Linked DNA regions of Homo sapiens: all the other regions are linked to region 1. The links are contacts of gene promoters, found by promoter capture Hi-C in blood cells and fetal thymus (Javierre and others, 2016). All regions are on one chromosome and are shown on one strand. The core of a region is centred on a gene start or on the middle of the fragment in contact, and the rest is flanking DNA. Distances in the headings are between cores, read along the strand shown. Region 1 holds the start of NRDC (nardilysin convertase). Region 2 has its middle 4.5 kb from the start of FAF1. Region 3 overlaps ZYG11B (zyg-11 family member B, cell cycle regulator). Region 4 has its middle 3.3 kb from the start of COA7. Region 5 overlaps ORC1 (origin recognition complex subunit 1).

Region 1 (2,834 bases), core at 138-2,637:
ATATTTTACAGTTCCTTCCCATTAGGATGCAAGCTCCCCCAAGGCAAGGCTTTAAATTTTTGTTGTCGTTGTTTAGACAGGGTCTCACTGTGTCAACCAGGCTGGAGTGCAGTGTTGCAATCACGGCTCACTGCAGCCTCGACCTCCTGGACTCAAGCGTTCCTCCTGCCTCAGCCTCCTGAGTAGCTGGGACCACATGCACGCATCACCAAGCCTGGCTAATTTTAAAAAAGAATTTTGTACAGACGGGGGTCTCACCATGTTGTCCAGGCTGGTACCAAATTCCCAGGCTCAAAGCAATCCTCCCGCTTCGGCCTCCCAAAGTACTAGGATTATAGGTGTGAGCTATCACTATCACGCCCAGCCTAAGGCAAGTTTTGTTTTGTTCATGGTTGTATTCCTTGCATTTGGAACTCAGAAGAGGCCTCGAAAACCTTGAAGATACAGTAACTATCAACACATCTCCCTGCTTCACGTCTTTCCCCGCTCATTCGTATGTATGAGCTATGATCTCTTACCCCATGGTGTCAGTATAGTGCATCTTACTAATTTCAGCTGCTTTTTAGCTTTCATTTATGTTTGTATTTCCGTCACATTTTACATTGCTAACCAAAGACCACTGCTAGCGGGAAAAACTGGGAAAGGAGACTTGAAGGCAGCAGACGCTGCAGCTGCTCGATAAAAATTGGCCGAATTTAACAGGAGGCTGGAGGAGCTAAAAAACGTTTTCACACAGAAGAGTTAGCACATCCAGACTGGTCTTTTTAGCACTTTCTTAGGGCTTGAGGATGAAACCCCACCACTGTCGGGCCGACTGTAGGGTAGAGAAGAGCCAATTAGTATTTGCGGCGCTCGGGAGCAGCGTCCATCCGGCGGGTGTAGGAAAATACTTCCGGCGTTCTGGTTTTTTATGTGCTGAGTCACAGCCGAAGGCTCGCCCCGGGTCTGAGGAGTAGGGTACCCAAACTATGACACGAATGGGAAAATTTAAAACTTTGGAATTAATTCTCTGCACTCGTTTCTCAGTTTTCTCATTAGGGGAATATTTTTCTTTGACACGCGGAGCACTACTCAGTGGTTTCCACAAAACACACTCGTACGTCATAAACGCGCCGGGGGCCCTTCTCCCGTCGTCCTCCGCGCCACTCTCTCCGCTTCTTCTCCCTCGCCCCGCCCACTTTGGGTTTCGAAATGTTCGCTGGCTGTTCCGAGAATCAGTCCGGGTCACGTTGGTGCCTCTCCTTTCCTGTTCTGATTGGTTGCTTACGTGAGCGTGACTACTTTCTTGCCTCATGATTGGCTGAAATCAGTAGCGTCATCGGCGGCCGGGAGGGCGGAGGGACGAGGGAAGTCGGCGAGAGGGAGACTGGGTTGGGGGAGGGGTTCAGGCCTGTTCCCCGCGGCTGCGGCAGCACCAGGGCCGGCCGCCACCGCCTCTAGAACGCGGAGGAGGTGGGTCCTGGGAAGCGGGATGTCCATCGCTCCAGCTTGGTGGTGAATGCTGAGGAGAGTCACTGTTGCTGCAGTCTGTGCCACCCGGAGGAAGTTGTGTGAGGCCGGGCGGGAGCTCGCGGCGCTCTGGGGAATCGAAACGCGGGGTCGGTGCGAAGACTCTGCTGCTGCCAGACCCTTTCCTATTCTGGCCATGCCTGGAAGGAACAAGGCGAAGTCTACCTGCAGCTGCCCTGACCTGCAGCCCAATGGACAGGATCTGGGCGAGAACAGCCGGGTTGCCCGTCTAGGAGCGGATGAATCTGAGGAAGAGGGACGGAGGGGGTCTCTCAGTAATGCTGGGGACCCTGAGATCGTCAAGTCTCCCAGCGACCCCAAGCAATACCGGTGAGGGAGGAGGCTTGCAATGGGGAGGCGAACAGTGTGCCGGCTTCTCTGTCGGTGCCGCCGTCACTTCTTGTCTCCATGTCTCCCAATGGAGCAACAGGGCACACTTTCCACCCCAAATGCTTCCTTGGGTGGAGGTGGCAAGCGTGATTAGAGGCTTCCCTGTGGTGTCAGCTGGGCAAGTGGGAGATCTTGGGTTGTAAGACGTCAGAATGGGAGAAGCTTTTCGAGTCATTTGAATACAGTCGCTAAAGCAAGAATGAAGGTTTCTTTGAGGAACGCAGCCTGAATGGTGAGGGAGTCTTGGTATTATGTTACCAGGAAAGGTTGACGGAGTTGGATACTTTAATTTGGAGGACAGGATATTTAAGGGGCATATTATCACTATCCAAAATATTTGAGGGACACTTAAGTGATAGGTGAAACTAGTGGACGAAAGTTACCAGAGGATGGTGTGGCTTCAGTAAAGTAACTTTGCATCATATTTGGCCTAAGTTGAAGTGACTTGTTTCCATGGGTAGTTCTCCATTACCAAAACGGTTGGGCGACCTCGTCCAGGAATATATTAGAGAGGGCTTAGGTCTCAGTTGGGTGAGTTGTAAGGTTTCTTCTAACCTTGAAATTCTCTACTTTTGGTTTGTACAGGAGTTCTCTAAACATTTCTAATAATTGGTGATTCAGTCCCCACCTGAGTATTTTCCTTCAGAGGTAGCTTATTTCATGGAGTATCATGACTATGATGTATCTTGCGTGTGTGTGTGTGCGTGTGTGTTTTAATAAGAGTCTGGGTCTTGCGATGTTGCCCAGGCTAATTTCAAACTCCTGGGCTTAGGGAATCCTCCTGTCTTGGCCTCCCAAAGTACTGGGATTACAGGCGTGAGCCACTGTGCCAGGCCTGGACTTTGATGTATTTTAAATAGAGTTCATATTGTCCAATAACTTCGTTGAACAGGTTGAGGAAATTGAGACCCAAAGAGTTTGCTTCTTGCTCTGAA
Region 2 (2,834 bases), core at 197-2,696, 910 kb after region 1:
AAATTAGCTGGGCGTGGTGGCTGGCGCCTGTAATCCCAGCTGCTCAGGAGGCTGAGGCAGGAGGATTGCTTGAACCTGGGAGGCAGTGGCGGCCCAGCAGTCTCAAAAAAAAAAAAAAAAAGAGACATAGAATAGAAATGTGATTCAGTCAAATTATTCTGTGCTTTTCCCTCATTGACATAGAATAGAAATGTGATTCAGTCAAATTATTCTGTGCTTTTCCCTCATTGACTCAAGTAGGTACAGTTTCTGAATGATTAACTTTTGGAAATGTGTATGTGGTATTTACCATTTATTTAACTGGTCTCAAAGTTTTCCTTTTTGTTGTATTTATAGATCAACAGAGGTGGAAAACAGACTGGGCACCCCCAGGCAGCCTTTTATGTGACTTTATAATTGTAGCTTCAGCATTTTATTTCTGAGATTCAGTGGTTTTTTTCATATAGGTACTTATTTATGAAAATTTTTTATTATTTTTATTTTATTTTATTTTTGAGACAGGTTCTCACTCTGTTGCCCAGGCTAGAGTGCAGTGGCTTGGTCATGATCATGGCTCACTGAAGCCTTGACTTCCCAGGTCCAAGTGACCCTCCTACCTCAGCCTCTGGAGTCGCTGGGACCACAGGCATGCTCCACCATGCCTGGATAATTTTTCTAATTTTGTGGAGATGGGGTCTTACTATATTGGCCAGGCTGAAAGTTCTTTTTTTTTTGAGACAGAGTCTCTCTCTGTCATCAGGCTGGAGTGCAGTGGCGCGATCCCGGCTCACTGCAACCTCCACCTCCAAATTCAAGCCATTCTCCTGCCTCAGCCTCCTGAGTAGCTGGGATTACAGGCGCCCACTACCACACCCAGCTAATTTTTGTATTTTTAGTAGAGATGGGGTTTCACCACGTTGGCCAGGATGGTCTCCATCTCCTGACCTCATGATCTGCCCGACTCAGCCTCCCACAGTGCTAGGATTACAGGTGTGAGCCACCGCACCCGGCCTGAAAGTTCTTCGTTAAAGTAAGAAGGAAAAAAAGCCCAGTAAGCAACCCAAAAGCTGAAAAATAATAGCAACAATTAATATTTGTATAGTGTTTCATGGTTATAAAATATGATGCATATCTATCTATCTATCTATCTATCTATCTATCTATCTATCTATATTTTTGAGACTGAATCTCGCTTTGTCGCCCAGGCAGAGTGCAGTGGCGCGATCTCAGCTCACTCCAATCTCTGCCTCCTAGGTTCAAGCAATTCTTCTGCCTCAGCCCCCGAGTACCTGGGATTACAGGTGCGCACCACCACGCCCGGCTAATTTTTGTATCTTTAGTAGAGACAGGGTTTCACCATGTTGGTCAGGCTGGTCTCGAACTCCTGACCTCATGATCCGCCCACCTTGGCCTCCCAAAGTGCTGGGATTACAGGTGTGAGCCACCACACACAGCCAATGCATATATTAATCTTTACAACAATTCTGTGAAGTGACTGTGATAATAATCCCCGTATTTCAGGTGAGGGAATTGAGGCTGGCAGAAATTGTGATTTAAAGTCAGTGAATACTAGACATAGGATTTGAATTCAGTTCTTGGGGCTCCAAACCTTATACTTTTTCCATTAGTCCAGGGTCCGCCACTAGTATCCTAAACAACACTAAATCACTAGATGAAATACATATGTGCAGTAGCATTAGTTTTCTCATGAATTACATTATGAGCAAGAAGTATTATTTAAGAAATTGGTTATCTTAACCAAAGAATCAAGGTTATCACTACCAGTAATAACTCAAGTTGATAACACATGGCCTTGATATGATGTAACAAGGACATATCACCTCTGCGGTGATACACATCTCAGTGTAATTCTGAGAATACATTAGGTAATCCCAGATTGAGGGAGATTTTATAAAGTTCCTGACTCTTCAGAAGTGTCCACTGAGAAACTGTCACAGATTGGAAGAGGCTACTGAGACATGACAACTAAATGTAATGTGGTATTATTGGACCATGGAACAAGAAAAGGACATTAGTGTAAAAATCCAAATAGAGCCTCCAGAATTTAACTAGTAGTATTTAGCAGTGTTAATTTCCTAGTTTTGATAGATGTACCATGTTAAATAAGATGGTAACATTAGAGAAAAATGGGCTAAAAGCATATAGGAACATTCTGTACTGTCTTTGGAAGTATTCTAAAATAATTTCAAATAAAAATTTAGTAAAATATAAATAATATTTATTATTTATATTGGAAATAAAGATGATATAAAAGTTTCTTTTAAAAGAACATGGAGATTCTAGAAAAAGATCTGTATTTAACTTAGGCTGAGCTCCATGAACTACTGTGGGCCAACTATGAGAATAGATAAATTAAAATTACTTTTCTTTGCTCGTGCATGGACCAAATTTCTTTACATTTCCTTCTTTTGGTTTATGACACTTAACTGAAATTGTTTCTCTTAAGGATGGAATTCTGGAGAAATGAAAAATGATTTTTTTTCTCCTAATTCAGTATTTATTTTTCTTCCCTTCTCTTATCTGTAGTAGATAACCACTCTGGATGCTAGGTATCCAACCATGAAGAGTTAGGCCATAGGGAAGAAACAGTGTCTTTGGGAATGGTATAAACTAAGCAGCATGGAAGGGAAATTGTACAGAGGCAACATGGTAAGTGGAAGGAGCACTAATTTGACCTAGTCTTGAATCCTAGGTCTGTCACTCTGTAGCATGACTTTGAGCAAATTCTTAACTTGCCAGAGCAGCTTTATATTCTGTAAAGTAGTAGTTGTAAATATTAAATGAGATAAAGTTTGTAATGTATCTGTACATAGTAGACTCCCAATAAAAATTAA
Region 3 (2,834 bases), core at 104-2,603, 850 kb before region 1:
AGGATCGCTTGAGCCTGGGAAGTCAAGGCTGCAGTGAGCTGTGATCATGCCACTGCACTTCAGCTTAGGGACAGAGCAAGACCCTGCCTCAAAAAAAAAAGAACTGCCACCTCTCAGGCCCTGCCCTCAGTTCACTGCAACCTCCACCTCCTGGGTTCAAGTGATTCTCCTACCTCAGCCTCCCGAGTAGCTGGGATTACAGGCATGTGCCACCACACCCAGCTAATTTTTGTATTTTTAGTAGAGACGAGGCTTTGCCATGTTGGCCAGGCTGGTCTCGAACTCCTGACATCTTAAACATCTCAACTATTCAAACACAACCTAATTAACATTTAACAAATATAAAATACAAAGCTTTATAATAATCATTCATTCAACTGTATTTATTATCTACAAAAATATTGCACGAGAAAGTGGCCTCTACTGATAATTCCTAGCTCAAAATAAGCTAATATTCTGCCTTCTCCTCACCTCTCCCATACATACACTGTTACTCTGTGTGTATATGTTTTAACAAGCAAGGAAAAATCAAGTTAATTAGATGCAAAGTTTAAAACATAATCATGCCTAATATGTCTGCTGTGGTCTGAATTCTGTCTCCCTAAATTCATATGTTGGAATCCTAACCCCCAAGGTAATGGTATGAGGAGGTGGGGCCTTTGGGAGGTGATTAGATCACCAGTTAGTGCCCACATGAATGGGATTAGTGCCCTTATAAAAGAGACTCCAGAGAGCTGCCTGGCCCCTGCCACCATGTGTGAAAACAGTGAAAAGGTGACTTAGGAAGAGCCCTCACGAGACACTGAATCCACTGGGGAACTGATTTTGGACTTCCCAGCCTTCCAAACTCTGAGAAATAAATTTCTGTTGCTGACAAGCTACCTAGTTTATGGTATTTTGTTACAGTAGATTGAATGGGCTAAGACAGTATCTTGCTAGCCTCATTTCCTACTACACATCTCCATTCTTGCATCCTTCCATGCTATATAAGGGTAATACTACTTCCTACAATGCATCCTAATTCCTTCCTACTTTCTTTCTTAAAAAAAAAAAAATCCCTGTGAGGGGATCCTTTCTACTTGCTACTCACATTCACAATGAGGCATTCTTCCCCTTCCCAAAATGATCTATATAAATCCTATTCAACTTTCAGGCCCAGCTCAAAGGACACTTTTAGATCCTAAATACCTCAAAGGGGAGTTCATAACTCCTCCCTCTCATACATTCATTCTCAATGGAAGGGCCCACACTTTCAAAAATCTAGCAGTGTAATGTCTTAGGTAGGATAGCTCTTTATTCTGAAAAGTATATCATCATACCTCACTCAATATCATTTTTGCATCAAAATTAAGATTCTCTGCCCAGGCGTGATGGCTCATGCCTGTAATTCTAGCACTTTGGGAGGCCAAGGTGGGAGGATGGCTTGAATCCAGGAGGTCAAGACCAGACTGGGCAACACAGCAAGACTCCATTTCTACAAAAAGTTTTACAAATTAGCGGGGCACGGTAGTCCGTGCCTGTGGTACCAGCTACTTGTGAGGCTGAGGTGGGAAGATCACTTGACCTCAGGAGTTCAAGGTTGCAAAGAGCCATGATTGTGCCACTGCATTCCAGCCTGGGCCACAGAGCAAGATCGTCTCCAAACAACAATTCTCAAACTCACTCTTTCTGTGTAGTCCACTAGTTACCTCAAATTTCAGTTTAAGTTTATATTAGTCAGGTGGGAAATGAGACCATAAAGTGAATCATTCAAGCACCTAGCTGGCCTGGGCACTTGGAATAATAAGTAAGGAACGGTTGCTACCTAGAACTTACATTCCACAGGGAGAAACAGGTTAGCATACAACAACAGTGTGTGAAAGTGAAGGAGACAAACACAGGAAAATGACAGACTAAAAATGCAGGAGTGAGTTAGGGAAAATTCATAGATTAAATAATTTTATAGTATATTACTTTTCTAAAAAACTGCTGGAGGGAAAAAAAGAAACTGACTAACCTCCTAGGGGAACATAATTATCAGGACTTAGTTTTGCCTTATTCCTCCCAGAGACCAAAATTTAGCTTGTTGCATATGATGGAGCAATGTTTTCAATAAATGTACAGCAAACCACTTATAACCCAACTCAATGAAAAAACCAACTGAAGCCTCAACCTATTTTCAGACAGAAAGAAAATTTGCAAATATAAGGTTCTCCCAACTAAAGGCAGACAGGGCAAAACAAATGAACTCTTTAGAAGGTTTAAAGAGACTGTCACAACCTGCCAACCTGATTGTCAGTCCTCAAATGCCCTTGGTCTCTGCCTCCAAATGAAAACAAATCATTTGTTTTTAGTAATAATAGCCAAGCTTGTAAATAAGTATTTTTAAACTTCTCCAACTGCACCTCCACATTAAAAGATGCTCAAAATAAAAAAAATTCAAAACATTTTTTAGCTATTTCTGTCAAAAGACTAGATCTCTCCTGAGGTCACAGTATGCATGCTGGCCCTCACTTCACTGCTCTGTAACACACCACCACTTCGATTTTGCAATGACACTAGGTGAATAGGCTTCCAGGATCTCTTCAATGCCTCCAAAAACGAAAAGGAAGAAGCAAACCTATAAATCCCTATCTGCCCGCCCTACAGCTCCCGGGAAGCAACAGTCCTCAAATTGTTCCTGCTTAGACCCCTGAAGCCCGTAGAAGGAAATGGGGACAGCTGCGACGGCGAACCGAGCGAGGACATCCGATAAGGGAAGAGGAAACGTGGATGGAAGAGGACGAAGGGGAGAAGGAACACGGAGAGAAGGGGGCAGTGGAGATAAAATGGTGAAGAGGGGTGAGAAGAGCAAG
Region 4 (2,834 bases), core at 250-2,749, 820 kb before region 1:
GTGTAACCCTTTGGGAGAGGTTTAGCGGGCTGTGTGACCTGGTGGAAATCACTTTACTTATCTGGACCTCCTTTATAAAAAGGAGGTATTAAGACCTATCCCGAGGCCTGGAGCGGTGGCTCACGCCTGTAATCCCAACGCGTTGGGAGGCCGAGAATGGATAATCTTTCTAACAAATGGTGCTAGAGTAATTATAAACCCACATGCAATAAAGTGAACCTCAACTGTTATCTCATACCTCATACAAAAATTAATCTGAAATGGATCATAGGCTTTCTAAATATAAGATTTAAACCATAAAATTTCTACAAGAAAATATAGGATAAAATCTTAGTGACTTTGGGTTTGGCAAAGACTTCTTGAATACGAAAGAAAAAGCACAAACTATTAACAAGAGGAAAAAAATCAATAAACTAGACACACCATTAAAATGAAAAACTTTTGGTTTTGAAAGACACTGTTATAAAAACAAAAAAGGCAGGCCAAACTGGGAGAAAATATATGCAAAACTTCTGATAACGGACTTGAATATATAAATAACTCTTAGAATGCAATAATAAAAAACAATCCAATAAAAAGGGGGCGAAAGATTTTAACAAACATGTCATCAAAGATACACAGATGGCAGATAAGCACATGAAAAGATGCCAACATTATTGGTCACTCAAAAAAATACAAACTAAACCTATGATAAGATACTGTTATATTCACTATAATGGCTAAAATTTTAAAAGACTGACCACACATCAAATTATGGTGAGGATGTAGGGCAACTAGAACTGTCAAACACTGCTGGTAAGAATGTAATGGTAGAATCACTTTAGAAAACAGTTTGGGTGTTTCTTAAAGTTAGATATATACCTACCATATGATCTAGCCATTCCACTCCTAGGTATGAACCCCAAAAATGGAAATGAATGCCCATACAAAGACACGTACACAAATATTCACAGCAGCTTTATTTGTAAGCCAAAAACTGGAAACCCAAATGGATAAACAAATTGTGATATATCTACATCATGAAATGTCATTCACTAAGAAAAAGAATGAACTATTAATACGTGTGGTAACATGGATGAATCTCAAAATAATTATGCTGAATCGAAGAAACTATACAAAAAGAAACAGTACTTACTGTATCATTCTATTTAGATAATATCCTACAAAATGCAACCCATCTTCAGTGACAGAAAGCAGATTAATGGTTGCTGGGGAGGGAATGAAGTACAAAGTCACATGAGGAAATTTTGAGGTGATGAATATGCTCATTATCTTGATTGTGATAATGGTTTACAGGTGTATACATATGTAGAAACTCATAATTGTTACTTTAAAGTTATGTGCAGTTTCCTGTATGTCAATTAGACCTTCATTTAATGTTTCTTATAGCTTTAAGAAAAACCTGGGTCAAAAGAGCAAGAGTCAGTGATATTCTAAGTTCCATTAATGAAAACCAAATTATTTGGAATGATAATCCCTCTTCTTAATTCAGTCAACAATACTTGGGCACCTAATATTGCTGGGCACAATCAAGACACTGTTATTATAACAAGAATGAGCTAAGACCACATGGACGATGTCAAATTGAAGCAGAGAACTTAAGAAGGCAAGCCAAAAAAAAAAAAAAAATACAGGGGAAAAGCACTCTAGGGCAGAGGCAACAGTTAGTTCAAACGGATCACGAGGTCAGGAGTTCGAGACCAGCCTGGCCGATATGGTGAAACCCCATCTCTACTAAAAATACAAAAATTAGGCGGGCATTGTGGTGGGCGCCTGTAATCCCAGCTATTCAGGAGGCTGAGGCAGGAGAATTGCTTGAAACCGTAAGGCGGAGGTTGCGGTGAGCCAAAATCACGCCACTGCACTCTAGCCTGGATGAAAGAGCAAAACAAAAAAAAGTGACCTCTTACTTGGTTGAGCCTCTCATCACCAACTAACTCTCTTGTGCCCTCTACCGCTCAGGTGATCTCATTTCAATGCAGTTCAACTCAGAAAATAAAGGGAAACATTCCCAGATTTTAGTAATCGACATCACCCTGCTCTATTCTATCATCAAGCCCTATTCTATTCTTGGCCCTGTGACCAGCATACAGGACACAGAGGTCACAGTCTGGTGGGGAACACAGACTTTCATGCCATTATTGGCATGACAAGAAACATTCCTGGAACAGGAATGACTTTGAGCCAGGCGCTCTGCCAAGCACATTGCATACATGAACTTGTAGTCCTTCTGACAGCCATTACAAATGGATCTGCATTTACAGAAGAGGATTCAGACTCACAAACATGATTGGTTTAAGGTTACAATTTAATAAACATGGAACATGGATTCTGAACTAAGATCTGTCCCCACTCCAAAGCCAGTTCTTTCTTTCCTACTACACTATACCAGAATAAACCAAGTGGTGTGGAACACCAAAATGGGAGCATCTAAATCTAATTTGAATGTGTGTAATTGTTGTGTCTGGGAAGACTTTACATAGGAGAGTATTTCCGATTTGTGTCAAAAAGGGTGGTCCAGGCATCAAGAGCAGAGGTAAACAGGGACACAAACTTGGGATCTATTCAGAGAACAGAAGGTTGGTGGGATGTGGGGGAAGAGAGGCAGAAAATAAGGCTAGAATCAGATTGCACAGGGTCTTGAAGGCCATCCTAAAGAAGATGACCTCAAACCAAAGTTCAAGGATTCCCATCCTGGGCCATGTGTACTGAGGAGTCCCCTAAGGTGATCAGGGTATAAGAAACCACAGGTAAATGTGGTATATTGCCTGGAATGTCAATTTTACTCAAAGGCTTGGGGGAGAAAAGGCAATCTTCTGTTATCCTATGAAAGA
Region 5 (2,834 bases), core at 86-2,585, 520 kb before region 1:
CTCACGCTGTCCCACCTGAAATGTGAGTCATCCCTTTGTCCAGTGTATCCGTGCTGTACAGTATGTGTGTGTAGGAAAAATCATAGCATATACAGGGTTAGTGGCAGCATCTGCAGGTTCAAGCATCTACTGGTCTTGGCGCGTACCCTCAGCAGATAAGGGGAGAGTACTGCACATAGATAAGGAGGATTTTGGACATACTTTCTCTTTGACATACTTAGAAGTATGGAGAAAAACCTCATCAAACTAATGTCCAGTAGAGGCAGCACATCAGAATCATGGGCTTCGGTGTATAGATTCTAGAATCCTCTCTTGGTGCTCCATTGGATGACTTTAGTCTTTCTCTGAAGAAAGCTAAGCAGGGAAGAGAGGATGATGATGAGGCACTAATGAGTGTTCTTTCGGTTGGAGCTATTGCTGGTACGGAGTGATACTAATCGTATGCTGTAATAATAAAGCTGAAGATTGCAAGCATTTGCCAGAAGTCATCTCAGTGGTTGATGCTGTAATTCTTGTGTGTGTGTGTGTGTGTGTGTGTGTGTGACAGTGACAGAATCTTGCTGTGTCACCCAGACTGGAGTGCAGTGGCACAATCTCAGCTCATGCAGCCTCAACCTCCTGGGTTCAAGCAGTTCTCCTGCCTCAGCCTCCCAAGTAGCTGGGATGACAGGCACCTGCCACCATGCCCAGCTAATTTTCTTTTTCTTTCTTTTTTTTTTTTTTTTTTTTGAGACAGAGTCTCGCTGTGTCGCCCAGTCTGGAGTGCAGTGGCGCCATCTCGGCTCACTGCAAGCTCTGCCTCCCGGGTTCAAGCCATTCTCTTGCCTCAGCCTCCCGAGTAGCTGAGACTACAGGCACCCGCCACCATGCCCAGCTAATTTTTTGTATTTTTAGTAGAGACGGGGTTTCACCGTGTTAGCCAGGATGGTCTTGAGCTCCTGACCTCATGATCCGCCCGCCTCAGCCTCCCAAAGTGCTGGGATTACAGGCGTGAGCCGCCGCACCTGGACAATTTTTTGTATTTTTAGCAGAGATGAGGTCTCACCATGTTGGGCAGGCTGGTCTCCAACTCCTGACCTCAAGTGATCCGCCTGCCTTGGCCTCCCAGAGTACTGTGATTACAGACGTGAGCCACTGCACCCAGCCTGATGCTATAATTCTTGCTAGGATTTTTGTTTTGCTGCTGTTTGATGCTGTCTTTATAGTCACTGATTTTTATTTGTTCGTTGCCTGTGTTTAGAGTAGCTCCTCTCAGAGGCCTTTTTGTCATTCCTTTGCCGGCTGATAGCACCATTAGGAAATGGAGCAATCCCAGAAGAGCGGGTGTGTGGGCTGGAATTAGATTGCTGCAGTTGGTCATGTGACCTTTGACAAACTCTTTAAGGTCCCCCGTCACTTGATTTCTTTGCCTGAAAAGGGGGATAGCTGTAGTACCTACCTTGTAGGGTTATTAGAAGGATTAAGGATCGGCCAGGTGTGGTGGCTCATGCCTGTAATCCCAGCACTTTGGTAGGCCGAGGCAGGCGGATCACGAGGTCAGGAGATTGAGACCGTCCTGGCTAACACGGTGAAACCCCGTCTCTACTAAAAATACAAAAAAATAATTAGCTGGGCGTGATGGCGGGCGCCTGTAATCCCAGCTAATTGGGAGGCTGAGGCAGGAGAATGGTGTGAACCTGGGAGGCGGAGCTTGCAGTGAGCCAAGATCAAACCACTGCACTCCAGTCCAGGTGACAGAGTGAGACTCCGTCTCAAAAAAATAAAATAAAATAAAAGATAACACATGTTGGGCCAGGCATGGTGGCTCATGCCTGTAATCCCAGCACTTTGAGAGGCCAAGGCGGGCGGATCACTTGAGGTCAAGAGTTTGAGACCAGCCTGGCCAACATGGTGAAACCCTATCTCTACTAAAAATATAAAAATTAGCCAGGCGTGGTGGCACAGGCCTGTGGTCCCAGCTACTCGGGAGGTTGAGCCAGGAGAATCTCCTGAACCAGGGAGGCAGAGGTTGCAGTGAGCCGAGATCACGCCACTGCACTCCAGCCTGGGGGACAGAGCAAGACTCCGTCACAAAAAAAAAAAAAATTTTGGCGGGAGGTGGTGGCTCATGCCTGTAATTCCAGCACTTTGGGAGGCCAAGGTAGGCAGATCACGTGAGGTCACGAGTTTGAGACCAGCCTGGCCAACGTGGTGAGACCTCGTTTCTACTGAAAATACAAAAATTAGCCAGGTAGGATGGCAGGTGCCTGTAATCTCAGCTACTCAGGAGGCTGAGGCAGCAGAATCACTTTAACCCAGGAGGCAGAGGTTGCAGTGAGCCAAGATGGGGCCACTGCACTCCAGCCTGGGTGACAGAGACTCTGTCTCAAAAAACAAAAAACAAAACCACACATGTCAAGGGTTAAGCACAGTGTCTGGCACATAGGAATTGCTCAGTAAAGTGTCCTTGAGTTGTCTTAACCTTTCCCTTTCCACCAAATTCTTTCTAGACTCTGATCCTCCTCCTAAGAAACGTGCTCGAGTACAGTGGTTTGTCCGATTCTGTGAAGTCCCTGCCTGTAAACGGCATTTGTTGGGCCGGAAGCCTGGTGCACAGGAAATATTCTGGTATGATTACCCGGCCTGTGACAGCAACATTAATGCGGAGACCATCATTGGCCTTGTTCGGGTAGGTGATGCCACCATCCTTGGTTCTACCTTGAAGCTTATTTCTGTCTGCCTCCTGAACTTCATGACCCCAGAAATATTACCGGCTCTAATACCCCATAGGGAATGCATTATTTCCTGTCATCTTCTGTGCTTGCCTGTCTGTTTCATCTCAACAGATATTTATT

What was found. Contacts are between HindIII fragments. The CHiCAGO score rates a contact against its expected background, and 5 or more counts as called.
Region 2: a contact is called between a fragment that was not itself captured here and the fragment with the promoter of NRDC in region 1, in 1 of 17 cell types (naive CD4 T cells). The highest score is 6.1, in naive CD4 T cells.
Region 3: a fragment that was not itself captured here is called in contact with the fragment with the promoter of NRDC in region 1 in 1 of 17 cell types (fetal thymus); the score reaches 5.1 in fetal thymus.
Region 4: a fragment that was not itself captured here is called in contact with the fragment with the promoter of NRDC in region 1 in 1 of 17 cell types (fetal thymus); the score reaches 8.1 in fetal thymus.
Region 5: a fragment that was not itself captured here is called in contact with the fragment with the promoter of NRDC in region 1 in 1 of 17 cell types (neutrophils); the score reaches 5.1 in neutrophils.

Annotation. Positions count from the first base shown.
Region 1 is chr1:51,877,280-51,880,113 of GRCh38, reverse strand. It overlaps NRDC (nardilysin convertase), which reads left to right and starts at 1,387. Exons shown (of 31, transcript NM_001101662.2): 1 at 1,387-1,839. The coding sequence starts at 1,499. RefSeq lists enhancers at 96-649, 1,040-1,219, 1,103-1,397 and a silencer at 1,300-1,349. The HindIII fragment of the contact is 5,345 bases long and covers 1-2,063 here.
Region 2 is chr1:50,963,375-50,966,208 of GRCh38, reverse strand. It overlaps a transcript of CDKN2C not described here. Among named protein-coding and RNA genes, the nearest start is that of FAF1, 4.5 kb to the right of the region's middle. The HindIII fragment of the contact is 3,553 bases long and covers 1-2,834 here.
Region 3 is chr1:52,727,083-52,729,916 of GRCh38, reverse strand. All of the region lies in intron 1 of ZYG11B (zyg-11 family member B, cell cycle regulator), which reads right to left. Among named protein-coding and RNA genes, the nearest start is that of ZYG11B, 2.0 kb to the right of the region's middle. The HindIII fragment of the contact is 1,993 bases long and covers 357-2,349 here.
Region 4 is chr1:52,700,187-52,703,020 of GRCh38, reverse strand. No RefSeq gene overlaps it. Among named protein-coding and RNA genes, the nearest start is that of COA7, 3.3 kb to the right of the region's middle. RefSeq lists an enhancer at 1-143. The HindIII fragment of the contact is 3,859 bases long and covers 1-2,834 here.
Region 5 is chr1:52,397,519-52,400,352 of GRCh38, reverse strand. It overlaps ORC1 (origin recognition complex subunit 1), which reads left to right. Exons shown (of 17, transcript NM_004153.4): 4 at 2,490-2,668. Among named protein-coding and RNA genes, the nearest start is that of ORC1, 5.5 kb to the left of the region's middle. The HindIII fragment of the contact is 2,742 bases long and covers 1-2,706 here.